Linked DNA regions of Homo sapiens: region 1 is linked to region 2. Evidence: promoter capture Hi-C in human tissues and cell types (Jung and others, 2019). All regions are on one chromosome and are shown on one strand. The core of a region is centred on a gene start or on the middle of the fragment in contact, and the rest is flanking DNA. Distances in the headings are between cores, read along the strand shown.

Evidence for each region. Contacts are between HindIII fragments. The study calls those that stand out against the background at their distance.
Region 1: a fragment that was not itself captured here is called in contact with the fragment with the promoter of CDH26 in region 2 in 1 of the 25 tissues and cell types used here (mesendoderm cells).

What each region holds. Positions count from the first base shown.
Region 1 is chr20:59,825,029-59,831,629 of GRCh38, forward strand. The region is part of intron 8 of PHACTR3 (phosphatase and actin regulator 3); the gene reads left to right. Among named protein-coding and RNA genes, the nearest start is that of SYCP2, 110 kb to the right of the region's middle. The HindIII fragment of the contact is 5,468 bases long and covers 1,090-6,557 here.
Region 2 is chr20:59,955,236-59,961,921 of GRCh38, forward strand. It overlaps CDH26 (cadherin 26), which reads left to right and starts at 3,188. Exons shown (of 18, transcript NM_177980.4): 1 at 3,188-3,560. The coding sequence starts at 3,492. The HindIII fragment of the contact is 5,804 bases long and covers 133-5,936 here.

The sequences.
Region 1 (6,601 bases), core at 2,574-5,073, 130 kb before region 2:
GGGGCCCCTGTATTGCCAGTGGCTTCTCTGTTCATTTTGCTGTGCCAGCTTGAGAGGCTGTGCAGGGGCTGGGGATTCAGCAGTGACCAGGTAGACAAAGTCTCTGCCCTTGGAGGGGTCCTGAGTCCCTAACTGGCCAGCTTGGTGCCTTGTCCTGGGTTGGCACACATACTGCCTTTTGTACTCTGGTGGCAGCTGTGCAAGCGTGGGACTGTGGTGTCTCTTTCACAGGCTTGGAGGGTGGCTTGCCCAAGGTTGCCTTGTTGCTGTCAAAACCAGCCTTTGGGCTCAAGTTTCTCAATGTAAACCTGGCGTTGCCTTGATGTCCCATTCATGTATCCACTCATGCATTCAGACACTCATTCATTCATTCAGTCACTTGTTCATTCATTCACTCGTTCATTCACTCATTCACTCATTCATTCATTCAGTCACTCATTCATTGGTCACTTATCACGGACCAGGCTTGGTTCCAGGGCCCTGAGTACACAGCATTGGGTACTACTGATGCAGTTCTTACCATTGAGGTACTCAAAACATAAATAATCAATTCTGGCCATGAAGGCCACAAAATACACAAATGCACTGGGGAGCAACCTGTGCAGAAAGGAGCCAGTTACTTCAGCTGGAGGAGTCGGGGTGGGCTTTCTGGAAGAAGAGGTTTAAGCTGAACCATGGGGAGATCTGGGTAACAACTTTCTCAGCAGAGGGAAGGGCCCAGGCAGAGGCGCTGGGTGGGAATCAGCTTGGCATGTGCTGTGGTCTGAATGTTTGTGTCCTCCCCAAATTCATGTGTCACCCCCAGTATGATGGTGGTTGTACATGGGGCCTTTGGGAGGTGATTAGGTCATGAGGGTGCAGTGCTCTTGAGCGGGATTAGCGCCCTCAAAAAAGGGACCCCTGAGGGCTGCATTGCTCCCTCCACCATGTGAGGACACAGTGAGAAGATGCTGTCTCTGGGAAAGTGGGTCCTCCCCGGATGCCGAATCTGCTGGCACCTCAACCTTGGACTTCCCAGACTCCAGAACAGGGAGAAATGGATTTTTGTTGTTTATAAGACACTGAGCTTAGGGGACTGTGTTGTAGCAGCCGCGCTGGGCAAGGGCAGCTCAGCAGGTCAGCATGACCAAAGGAGGACAAGGTATGGGGAGGAGGGAGATCAGTGGGGTGGGGGAGGGGAGGGGTGCTCAGGGGCTTCGAGGAGGCTGGAGCTCTGCTCCTCAGCAGGTTGTCTCCCTCCAGGAATTCCCTGCCACAGGCTCGGGCCTCTGGGTCCTGGTGGCTGAGCACAGATCTTCGCTGAGTGTCCCTGGTCTGGGCCAATGTGGGGCCAGCATCTTGGTTCTTCCCAGCTGACTCAACCTGGGCTTGGCTCACCCTTGGCTGGGACCCAAGGAGGCCAGGCAGGGTGGTGGGGCCCAGTGGGGTGTGGGGCACATTCCTTCCAGTGCGCTCCCCTGCCCCAGCCTTACACCTGGCATTACAGGGCACATGCTGTCCTCACCCTGCCTCTCACACCTGCTGTCTCTGCACACACCCTCCTGGCCCTGCCTCTCACACCTGCTCTCTCTGTACACACTGTCCTCACTCTGCCTCTCATACCCACTCTCCCACACACTCTGTCCCTGCCCTGTCTCTCATGCCTGCTCTGCACACACAGTCCTGGCCCTGCCTGTTACGCCTGCTGTCTCTGCTTCCCTCTCTCACGTCCTTCCCTGCAGGGTGCGTCTCTCCCTCCTCTTTGCACACATGTTCTTGGCCTTTCTTCCTCACTCCACTTTCCTCCTTTCAAAAGTAGCATTGGCAGGGCTGGGTGTCACTGTGAATGACATTCTCTGCGTTACCTTGACTGTGAGAACAGAAAGTGCCTCTCTACAGGTAGATGCGAGTTTGGTCCTGAAAGTCAAGGGCCTGGTTTTCCTCCGGAGGATTTGAATCCTTCCCTCTCCCTGCTCCCCTCCCTTCTCTCCTTCCCTCCCTCCTTCCCTCCCATAGTTCTCAGGCACCAGGTGATTCCTCAGTACCTCTGAGAGTCCCCAGATGGAAGGTGACCTGGATGTCCCTTGGTGTCCATGTTGCTGTCTTTAGCACCTGGAAGAGGAGGTAGAAGGGGCATGTTCACGGTGGGGTTGGGGAAGCCTCTCAGGGCAGCCCGGGAACCATCCGGAGAGACTGGTGCTGGTGACCAGCTGGCCTTCATGGGCGGGGGTGCACGTGATCTTGGTGCCTCACCTGAGCCCTTGGAACACCCGGCTCCAGGAGGCTGATTGGAGGCGAGACCCCTCCCCACCACCACTGGGGCTGTTCCTGGTGCAGAGGGTGAAGGACTCATCTCATCTGTATCCCAGGGGCACTAACCCAACCCTGGGCAGGGCAGTCTAGAGTCCCTTTTTGGCTTAGGGTGGGCCACAGAGCCAGGCTGACAAAACAGAAATAGCAACAGTGATGGAGACAGTGCGGTGTGCAGCTTGCGGAGCCCAGGGCACAGCGGCCTGGCTAGCCCCCTCACATACGGCTCTCTCCTTTCAGTCTCACCAGGTGAGACCATGGAGGTGCAGAGAGGAGACTGGCTGCACCCAGGAGGTGGAGGACAAGAGACACTGGAGAGTCTGGGAGGCCAACTCCACGTACCTGGAGTTCTTTTCTGTGCTGCCCTGGGAGGGAGCCCAGGCTCCAGGGGACATATTTCTCCTGCAGGGTGGGGTTGGGAGGACAGAGTAGGCAGGAGCCTTTGGCCTGAAGGCTTGTCACTGTGGGCACAAGAGGCATGGGACACCTTCCCGACATCAGAAGCCCCCCACTGCACCAAGCTTGGCGGGGCTTCCTGGTGGAGTTGAAGTTGCCCTGCCTCCTATGCCCTCAGGACACAGGAGGCAGGCCAGCCGTTCTGTTGCCTTTTGGAAACTCAGGGCAGCTCTGTGGATTGTCACAGCAACTGGAGCTCCTGCTGTATTTTCAGGATGGTCCCGGGAGGCAGGTGTTCTGCAGCCATGGGGCACTCCCTTAGCAATGAAGACTGGCCCCCCATTCCACTTGACTTCTGAATGTCCCTGGGACACTCATGAGAGTCCGAAGCCTGTTTATGATGACCTGAGCCTCATCCCAAGTGCATTGTGGACACACACAGGAGGTATTTTGGTGGAGCTGTATTACAGGTGGCGTCTCCTGGAATGCAAAATGCCAGAAACCTCTCCCACAGATTGGGGAGGGAACCTTGCTTTGTCCAGAGCTTCACCAAGAAGCATTCCTCCACTAGTGTCTCTCAGGGCATGGAGTGACCAGTGTGGCAGCTGTGGGTCTGTCTGCATTGGTGGCTGGCACTGTGATGGTGATTTTTCTGTAGCGGCAGCATTGGCATTGTGTGCTGTGTCACCCAATCCAGCCATGCCTGGCACTTACTTACCTATCGGAATATGTGTTATTTGATTAAAACTTAATTTCCTTTTTCCTCCTTTATATTGCAGATAGGGTGTTATGTTGTTTTTTTGGTTATGCGTGTCAGGGATTTGGAGGAAAAGGGACAAGACAGAACAATTGTAATAATGGGGGTGTGTGGGGTACAGTGGGGCTGCGGACCCGTGTGAGGAGAAGGACATCTTTGCCGGACAGGGACAGTGTGAACAGCCACTTATTGGTAAATGCAGCTCGACGTGGGGCCATCACCCGGCATGGAGTTTTGGGAGGGGTGGGAGTAGGAGGGGCTGCTGGAGGGGTCACCGTAAACTGAAAGGCTTTGCTGAGGGCCTTGGAGTTTGTCCTGAGGATGGTGGGAACCCGGGCTTGAGCTCATCGTGGGAGTAGGAGTTAGAGTTATGCTGCTGTGGGCAGGGAGGTGGACAGTGTGGAAGTCTCCATCATCCAGGGCTGAGGCTTGTGGCCTGGATCAGGGAAGTGGCCTTGGGGATGGAGAGAGGCAGATGGATGGATGGACGGATGGATGGATGCAAGCAGAACCCAGCAGACTTGGAGCTTCCTGGGGTGTTGGACGTAGGGAGTAAGAGGAGCCAGTTCTCCCAGGGGTCTGGTGTGTGCCTGGGTGGTGGCTGGAGCCAGCCCCTGAGCCCAGGATGCTGGGCACGGAGCAGGTGTGAGGAGGTGGGGAACAGGGTGTGAAAAGGTCGGCTTTGGACTCAGAGTGCCTGGAGTCACATCCTCCCCGGCATCCCAGAAGTCAGGACTGCTGGCTGCTGAGATGGGGCTTGCCCCAGGCATGTGGACCAGCAGCCAGCACCTCTCAGCTGAGCCCTCAGTCGGCAGAACATCCCTGCTTGCTGTTTCCTAGTGTGGACACACTCCATCCCCTCTGCCTGGATGCCCATCCCAGGTCTTTCCCTGGGCGGTTTCTTTCATCATCCAGGCCTCATCTTATGGCCTGGAGAGTCCTCTTCTCTTCCTGAACTTCTCTCCAGACACACCCACATTGCTCTGACGCTCTGAGACATAGGGTCAATGTGCCTGTCATCCGTGCACCCAGATGGTGTGCGCCTGGGGGCAAGCAGACGAGACATCTGCCCCATTCACCATCAGATGTCTGAGGATGCATCAATGCGTCGTGTGAATGGTGTGTGGAGACGCTGCCTCGCTGGGGAATCCCATCTCCAGGCGGGGGCCGCCAGCTTTTCTCAGTGACTCAAGGCGGCTGTGGGGCAGGATTGGCATTCCCAGAAAGGAGCCTCCCAAAATAGCCCGGGCGTCCCCTGTGGGTGTCGAGCTGTCTGTTCTCTCTAGGAAGGCATTCTGCCTTGTATGGAAGGAATTGCTTCTCAATTTCTGCTCCACACTGAGGTGACTTTAGATGTTGATTCAAACCTTTTCTGTGACATCTGTGCTGGGGTGAGATCAAGATTTGGGGGATGTGCGTTTAGTGGGGCAGCCTGGCTGGGTGGGGCTTCATTGGGGAAGCAAAGCTTGGGGAGCTGGAACTATGCTTCTCCTGACCCCGTGTCCTTCCACTTCCTGAAATTACCTGCAGCCCCTGCTGCTGTGCTCATCATGCAGGAAGGCAGTCAGCTGAGCAGTGTGTGCAGAGGACGATTCAGAAACTGGTACAAACTTGGCACTGAGACGGCGTCTGATGGGAGAAGAGGGGGTGTCTGATGAAAGAGGCTATGACAGACAGGAGCATGTGCGTGTCTGGTGGAAGAGGGTGTGCGTGTCTGATGGAAGAGGGTATGAGTGTCTGATAGAAGAGGGCGTGAGTGTCTGATGGAAGAGGGTATGAGTGTCTGATAGAAGAGGGTATGAGTGTCTGATGGAAGCAAGTGAGTGATGGACAGTGTGAGTAGATGATGAAAGAAGGTGTGAGTATTTGATGGAGGAGGGTGTGTCTGATGGAGACGGTGTGAATGTCTGATGGAGAGAGCATGAGTGATGAAGAGGGTGTGAGTGTCTGATGGAGGAATGTGTGGGCATCTGATGGAGGAAGATGTGAACATCTGATGGAGGTGTGAATGAGCAGATGTTGAAAGAGGGTGTGAGCATCCGTCTGATGGAGGAGGCTGTGAGTGTCTGAAGGAGGAGTGATTCTTGGGGATCCAGGCCTGCAAGGAGGCGCTGGGCAGGATGGAGCCTGCAGCTCTGCTGGCTGAAGGTGGAAGAGACCTGGGCTCAGCACGCCAGGTGAATAATATCAGTGCTATAGTAGTAATGATGCCACCTATTTGTGTGTCAACCTCCTCCTGTATTTAGTGTTCTCGACTCTCCCAGCATCCCTGTGGGTTTTGTTGGCAGGTGTTCACCTGGGGAATCAGAGGCTCAAGTAAGGGAGGGCGTGACGCCATCACCCAGCTGGCAGGGGTCAGAGCTGGAACTGGAATCCTAGCTCTGTGCCAGTGCTGGGGCACCAGTGCTGACTGTGGAATAGACAGTTGACAGCCTCCACAGACCTGGAAATGTGGGTGGCACAGTGGCATCATGACTCCTGGAGCCTCTCCAGGCGTCCTGACTGTCCAGGCTGTCGGCGGTCTCATCAGCTCCACCTCTAGGCCCCTTCCTCCCCATTGTTTGTCCCCTGCTCCCTGTCTCCTCTGTGCTACTCACAGCACAGGGCCAGGTGTGTCGTAGGTGACTGCTACAGATCTGTCGTGTGAGAGGCACTCGGAACCAGGAAGTGCCTGTGGGGTCACCTGTTTGGCTGGTGCCCCCTTGGCCCCCAGAAATGACTCACATCCACACTTGAACATACAGACATCCTTTTCCAGGGTGTGTTGTGCTCGATACCTTTAATTCCTGTCTGCATTCCAGGGCCTGCCCAGCCTCTTCCTGGCTCCCCAGCCCAGCCTGGTCCTTCCGGCCTCCCTGTCATCCCCACCTCTCGTGTGTGCACAAGCAGGGACCAGGTAGGGAGACCGGCAGATGCTGCTCTCTGTCCCTGGGGTTTCTTTTCTTAGTGTTGCTCCCACACCCACGCGATGCTTTAATTAACTGCCACACTCAGGCTTTCTCAGTGGGGAGAGTCAGAAATAGACTGTGGCTTCCCCAGCTCCAGGCGGCACCAGGACGTCACCAGCAGCCCCATTTCTGAATCAGGAGTCTCAAGCAGCTGCAGAGGGTGGGGAGGTTTGGGGAATCCCACAGGGGTTCTACACCCCCACCTACCCCG
Region 2 (6,686 bases), core at 1,938-4,437:
AAGAACAGTGAGAACTGGAGGTGGCTGGGGGCACTCCTCAAAAACATGAGAAGGTTGACCCTGGGTAGGTAATTGTAGCTCATACCTCCCTTGCAATCAAGTAACTTTTATCTCATGAGCAATCTCATTTCTTCACTTGTCAGCTTACAGGGAGCTGGGAGCTGCCACCATGTGGCTATAAAGTATTACTGTACTTCCAAGGACACAGAAAGGAGCGCTAGACTATTGTCACTATGATCACATGCTCAGAATAGAAAGGGAGTGGGGACATCTTCAAGCTCAGGCTCACCCAAGATGTGCAGCAGGTGATGCCCAGAATCACCAGCTGAGTTCCAGGCCCCGTGGCCTACCCAAGTAGGGTTGCCGTGTGGGGAACTGGCATTCTGCTTAGTTATTTTAAACGCTTGAGAATGTTGAAAACTTGTTTGTTTCTAATATATTAAAATACCAGTTCCTATGGTGTTTTTTGTTTTGTTTTGTTTTGAGATGGAGTTTCACTCTTGTTGCCTAAGGCTGGAGTGCAATGATGTGATCTCAGCTCACTGCAACCTCCGCCTCCCGGGTTCAAGGGATTCCCCTGCCTCAGCCTCCGGAGTAGTTGGGATTACAGGTGTGTGCCACCATGCCCGGCTAATTTTAAAATACCAATTTCTTTTAAACTTAAAACGAATGTGAAAGTGGAATCCTTCACTGTTGTCCCCCAGCTCCGCCCAGACTAGAACATTGTGAGGCTAATGCCTTTCTAGCAACAATATTTTAGTCCCCAGCGCTATTCTAGCAGCAGGGAGTGCTCAACTGACGTGGTTTTTTCACATATATTTAACATGGTTTAGCTCACCTGACTTATATATTCTAAATTAGTGATTCTAACTTAATCAGTTTTTTAAAAATAGGCTATCATTATAGAAATATCCACTTTGAAAATAGGCACAAGGTATTCAGTTTCTCTTTATGCACAGGAAATATCTATAGACTTTAAAGTTGTATTTATTATTCTTTTCAATAATAAGCTATTAATTTCAATAAAAATAAACTATTCAAATTAAAATATTCAGCAGCATCTCAGAGCTATGAATGTTCAGTTAAGCAAAGAAAGTTTTTTTTTTTTAATTGGGAGATTTTTATTTTATATTTTATTTTTGATGAGTTCTTTTTTATTTTTATTTTTTAATTTTATTTTTCCATAAGTTATTGGGGTACAGGTGGCATATTGGTTACATGAGTAAGTTTTTCAGTGGAGATTTGTGAGATCCTGGTGCACCCATCACCCAAGCAGTATACACTGCACCATATTTGTTGTCTTTTATCCCTCACCCTCTTCCCACTCTTCCCCCCAATTCCCCAAAGTCCATTGTATGATTCTTATGCCTTTGTGTCCTCATAGCTTAGCTCCCACAAATCAGTGAGAATATACAATGTTTGATTTTCCATTCCTGAGTTACTTCATTTAGAATAATAGTCTCCAATCTCATCCAGGTCACTGCAAATGCTGTTAATTCATTCCTTTTTATGGCTGAGTAGTATTCCATCATATATATCTGTATATACACATATATATACATATATATGTGTATATATATGTGTATGTATATATATACATATATGTGTGTATATATGTGTATGTATATATATACATATATGTGTGTATATATGTATGTATATATGTGTATATATGTACATACACATATATACACATATATGTGTATATATACATATATGCGTGTATATATGTACATACACATATATACACACATATATGTGTATATATGTACATACACATATATACACGCATATATGTGTATATATACATATAGATACGCATATACACATTTTCTTTATCCACTAGTTGATTGATGGGCATTTGGGTTGGTTCCACGATTTTGCAATTGTGAATTTTGCTGCTATAAACGTGCATGTGCAAGTATCTTTTTCGAATAATGACTTCTTTTCCTCTGGGAAGATACCCAGTAGTGGGATTGCTGGATCAAATGGTAGTTCTACTTTTGTTCTTTAAGGAATCTCCACACTGTTTTCCATAGCAGCTGTACTATGTTATATTCCCCCCAGCAGTGTAGAAGTGTTCCCTGATTGTCACATCCACACCAACGTCTACTGTTTTTTGATTTTTTGATTATGGTCATTCTTGCAGGAGTAAGGTGGTATCGCACTGCGGTTTTGATTTGCGTTTTGCTGATCATTGGTGATGTTGAGCATTTTTTCATATGCTTGTTGACCATTTGTATATCTTCTTTTGAGAATTGTCTATTCATGTCCTTATCCCACTTTTTGATGGGATTGTTTTTTTCTTACTGATTTGTTGGAGTTCATTGTGGATTCTGGATATTAATCCTTTGTCAGATGTATAGATTGTGAAGATTTTCTCCCACTCTGTGGGTTGTCTGTTTACTCTGCTGACTGTTCCTTTTGCAGTGCAAAAGCTCTTTAGTTTAATTAGGTCCCAGCTATTTATCTTTGATTTTATTGCATTTGCTTTTTGGTTCTTGGTCATGAAATCCTTGCCTAAGCCAATATCTAGAACAAGCAAAGAAAGTTTACCTTTTATTTTATCTGTTTACTACTTTAAACAAGGTAATGTGATAAAAAGGTCATGTTAAGGTAATCAGGGTTAATGTATCACAGATTGTGTTTTAAAACTTGCTTACTGCAACCTTAAGTATTGGTATAATATAATCTCAAATTGTCTCTTTCAGAATTCTCATGCAAAGACTCCCGGGTTGCCACAGAGATCCCTGTCCATAGGGAGGCTCTTTCCCATCTCTCCTCCCTCCCACTTTAATTCCAAACTCAAAAAGGCAGATTAATCTAAGCTTAAAAAAGGTTTTAGTAGAAATAATTTGAAAACCCCAGAGCCCTGGGATATTGTTGGAATAACGATTTTTAGTGCTTTGGAAAGTAAAAGTTGATTTTTCTTTTCTTTCATTCTTCCCCATCCCTTCCCCCTTAATAAAGTTATCATTCTTGTCATTTTCTAGTTTTTTTTGTTTGGTTCAAGAGGATAAGATTATAGAAAATAGTCACTAACATATCCTGCTATAGAAAGAGATGATTGGACCTTCTATTTGGAAACCAGAACAAACAAGGAAACAAAGAAACAAATAATTCTGCTTTCCGATAGGTGCTGGTTTTACTTCCGCTGGCTGAGCTGTTGTTCCTGAGGTCAGACCCCAGCCAGTCTTTTGTGTACGTGCAGGACCATGGTGGCTTTAGTTTCTACCCCACCCTTCCTAGGAACTCTACTTGTGGCAAACGTATGTTCAAGCTTACAAGTCAGCCCACCCCACTCTGATAAATGCAAGAAAAGCTGAAAAGGGAGGAGCAAGATGGGATGAAAGCATCTGGGCCAAAGTGACCTGAAAACCTTTAGAGAAGAAGCTGCTGGCTGAGAAGGAGGTGTGTGGCTCCGGTGAGACCACCAGCTTGGAGGACTGGTCATCAGCTGCACGTTCTGGGTCTGTCTTGGGTATTCCCATATGGCCATGAGATCCGGGAGGCACCCCTCGCTGCTGCTGCTTCTAGTGCTGCTGCTGTGGCTGCTGCAGGTAAGCTGAGCCTGCAGCCTAGTGCTCAGGTGCAGGGAACTGAAAGCAAAGCACAAGCTGGCCCTGCCCCTTCTAGGCTAAGGGAGGGGAGAGGGACTGAGTGTGACCTGCTGGGACCCAGGGCTGGCTGTCTTGAGAATGGCTTAGGTAGCAGGGGCTCTGGATTTATATAAAGGGAAGTTAAGGGTCCCAGTCTGTTTGGGGCAACAGTGGGAGCAGGCTAAGGGACCTGTTTAAAACTAATTTATATAGTTCACACTATTTTTAGTGAGATTACATCAACACACACGTGTTTTCTTTCTTTGTTTCTTTCTCCTTTTGTTGAGACAGGGTCTGGCTTCATCATCCAGGCTGGAGTGCAGTGGCATGATCAAGGCTCACTGCAGCTTTAACCTCCCAGGCTCAGGTGATCCTTCCACCTCAGCCTCAAGAGTAGCTGGGACTACAGTAACTTACCACCACGCTGGCTAATTTCTGTATTTTTTATAGAGATGGATTTTCACCATGTTGCCCAGGCTGGTCTCGAACTCCTAAGCTCAAGTGATTTATTCGCCTTGCCCTTCCGAAGTGTTGGGTTTACAGGCATGAGCCACCTCACCCAGCCAACACACACAATTTTTTTTTTTTTTTGAGACAGGGTCTCGTCATCCAGGCTACAGTGCGTGGTGACATCTCAGTGCACCGCAACCTCCTCCTACTGGGTTCAAGCAACCTCCTGGCTCAGCCTCCCGAGTACTGGGACTACAGGTGCACGCCACCATGCCCGGCTAGTTTTTGTATTTTTATTAGAGACAGGGTTTCACCATGTTGGCCAGGCTGGTCTCAAACTCCTGACCTCAAGTGATCTGCCTGCCTCAGCCTCCCAAAGTGTTAGGATGACAGGCTTGAGACACTGCGCCCTGCCAAGTTTTATAATGATACTTCTGTTCACACTTTACATAAGATTGAGGAAATCTCAGTTGTCTGGATCCAAGGCAATTTGAGCAAACCCATGGGGATGGAATGGCTAAATCCATTGCCCCCAACTGCCACTGTTTAAATGGGAATACAAACTAGTGGAGTCAGGATTCGAAACACATGGGCTTGCTCTGTTTGTACTTAGAGTGGACAGAGGTAATGTTGCATGCGCTTGTTGGTTATGATCTGCTTCGTTGGCTTTCTGTAGGTAGGGAGAGGGAATCATTTCTTCCTTTGAATACCAGCTGAGGGTGGGAAGCAGCCCAGTGGCTGGTAACTGTGAGCTCTGGACTGGGCTGCTTGGCGTCCTGACCTAGGCTCCTTCACAGCCCGCTGGGGACCTAGGCCAGCTTAACTTTGTTCCTTACCTTGGATCAAGTTGAACTTACCTAGGGAGCTTCAAGGGATCTCAGTGCCTGGGTTTTGCCCCCAAAGGTTCAGGTTGAGCTGACCTGGGAGTGCACTGGGTGTCAGTGCACTGGTTTTAACATAACCTTGTTAAGCCTATTTTTCTTCACCTGAAAATGGAGCTAGTAACTGAATTTATCTGAGCCAGTGGTTGTACCAGTGAATGAGGAAATGCGTAAAAGCCCTTGGTACTGCGAAAGTTGTCAGAATCAGAATGGAGTTCCTTATGTTAAAACACACACACACACACACACACACACAGGCACAAAGCCTGATATATAGACACAAAGAAGGTTATGAAAAGGGGGTTCTCACATTTGTAGGCTTGATAACTAAAACTATCACAAAAGCTCTGCAAAAATAACAACTTTGCACAAAGGCCGTTAAAACCTTACACAAAAAATACTTTTTCGAAGAAATCTTCCCAGCAACTTTTTGTGCAAACTCAGACCAGTGTCACCCTTCTTATTGATCTTTGTAGCCAAAGATAATTATTTCAAAACAATGATATAATCCTTCTCATTTTTTCCTTTGAAAACCTTTATCTCCCTTTACCTCCCTGACTCTGCACATCGTTTACCATGGCACACATATTCCCATGGATATGTCCTTGCCCAGACAAACGTCATCTTCTCTTAGAGAGCCTCTGTCTACTATTAGGTTCACAGTTCAGTAACGACCCAGCCGTTTTTCTAATCACAGTGAAAATGGTTGGCAATATTCATTCAGAGCTCATGCTAAAACTATTTACTGGATACCTGCTTTGGGCCAGGCACTGGGAATACACCAATAAACATAATAGGGGGAAAACCCTGTCTGAAAGTGGATAACTTGTTTGGTACCAGTTGCTTGAGGTTTGGAGAATTTTCTTGGTCACATTTTGCCATATCAAGAGTTACGAGTTTCCTTAGTCAGACAGCACATTAATTTGATCTCCAATACTTCACAGAAGTCCTTTTTAGTAGCCCATGTTTGCATGGATTTGAATATAGTCCAGATCAAATCCTGTCCCCATCCTTCCCTCACTCCTGCTCCTACCCACAATGAGTCTGATCAGGAAACAGACCTGAATTCTCTTCCCTCTGGCGTATTAGTGCAGTGCCAAAGCAAATTAATTGACTTCTGAGGGTGGTTGGGTGGGGGTGGGCAGTGGGAATGGGTCTGTGGATTGTACTTCAGTGATTGATGACAGCAGCTTTATGTAGATTCCAGGGAATCAAGACAGATGAAGAGAACATGATTCAATAGATGTAAGAAGTTTTTAGCAATCAGAATGCTGGACCTTTAACTCTTAAAGAGCTTTACACCTGGCAGGTGCTCAATAATTGTCAAATTGGCTATGAGTAACATTCCGTTCCATTCCTTTACATCCCCGCCCCCTGAATTGGCTTATTGCCATCTGTGACATCTATGACAGATACCTACTTCCCCCTGTTCAGATCTCCATATTTACAAGCTGATACCATTTCTGCTGGAGAGCTATTGTGTCCACAATAGTTTTCCTCTGAAATCCCCACACCCTTTCTTTGTCATTTGGCCATGAAGCCAAATCACCAAGTCAGGATTCTGTTCTGCAGGTTTATGTCTTTGTTCCAGGTTCAGTGACAAGTAATGACAAGCCAAGGAAGAGGAGTTTTCTCCCCTTTTGTCATTTCCAGGCCTCTGAGCTCATATGTCCTCACCTTGGGGCTGTGGCAGGCTTCAAAGACCAGAGAAGAGGGAAGTTTTAAGAGAATGAAACTGTACAATGAGAAAAGCCAC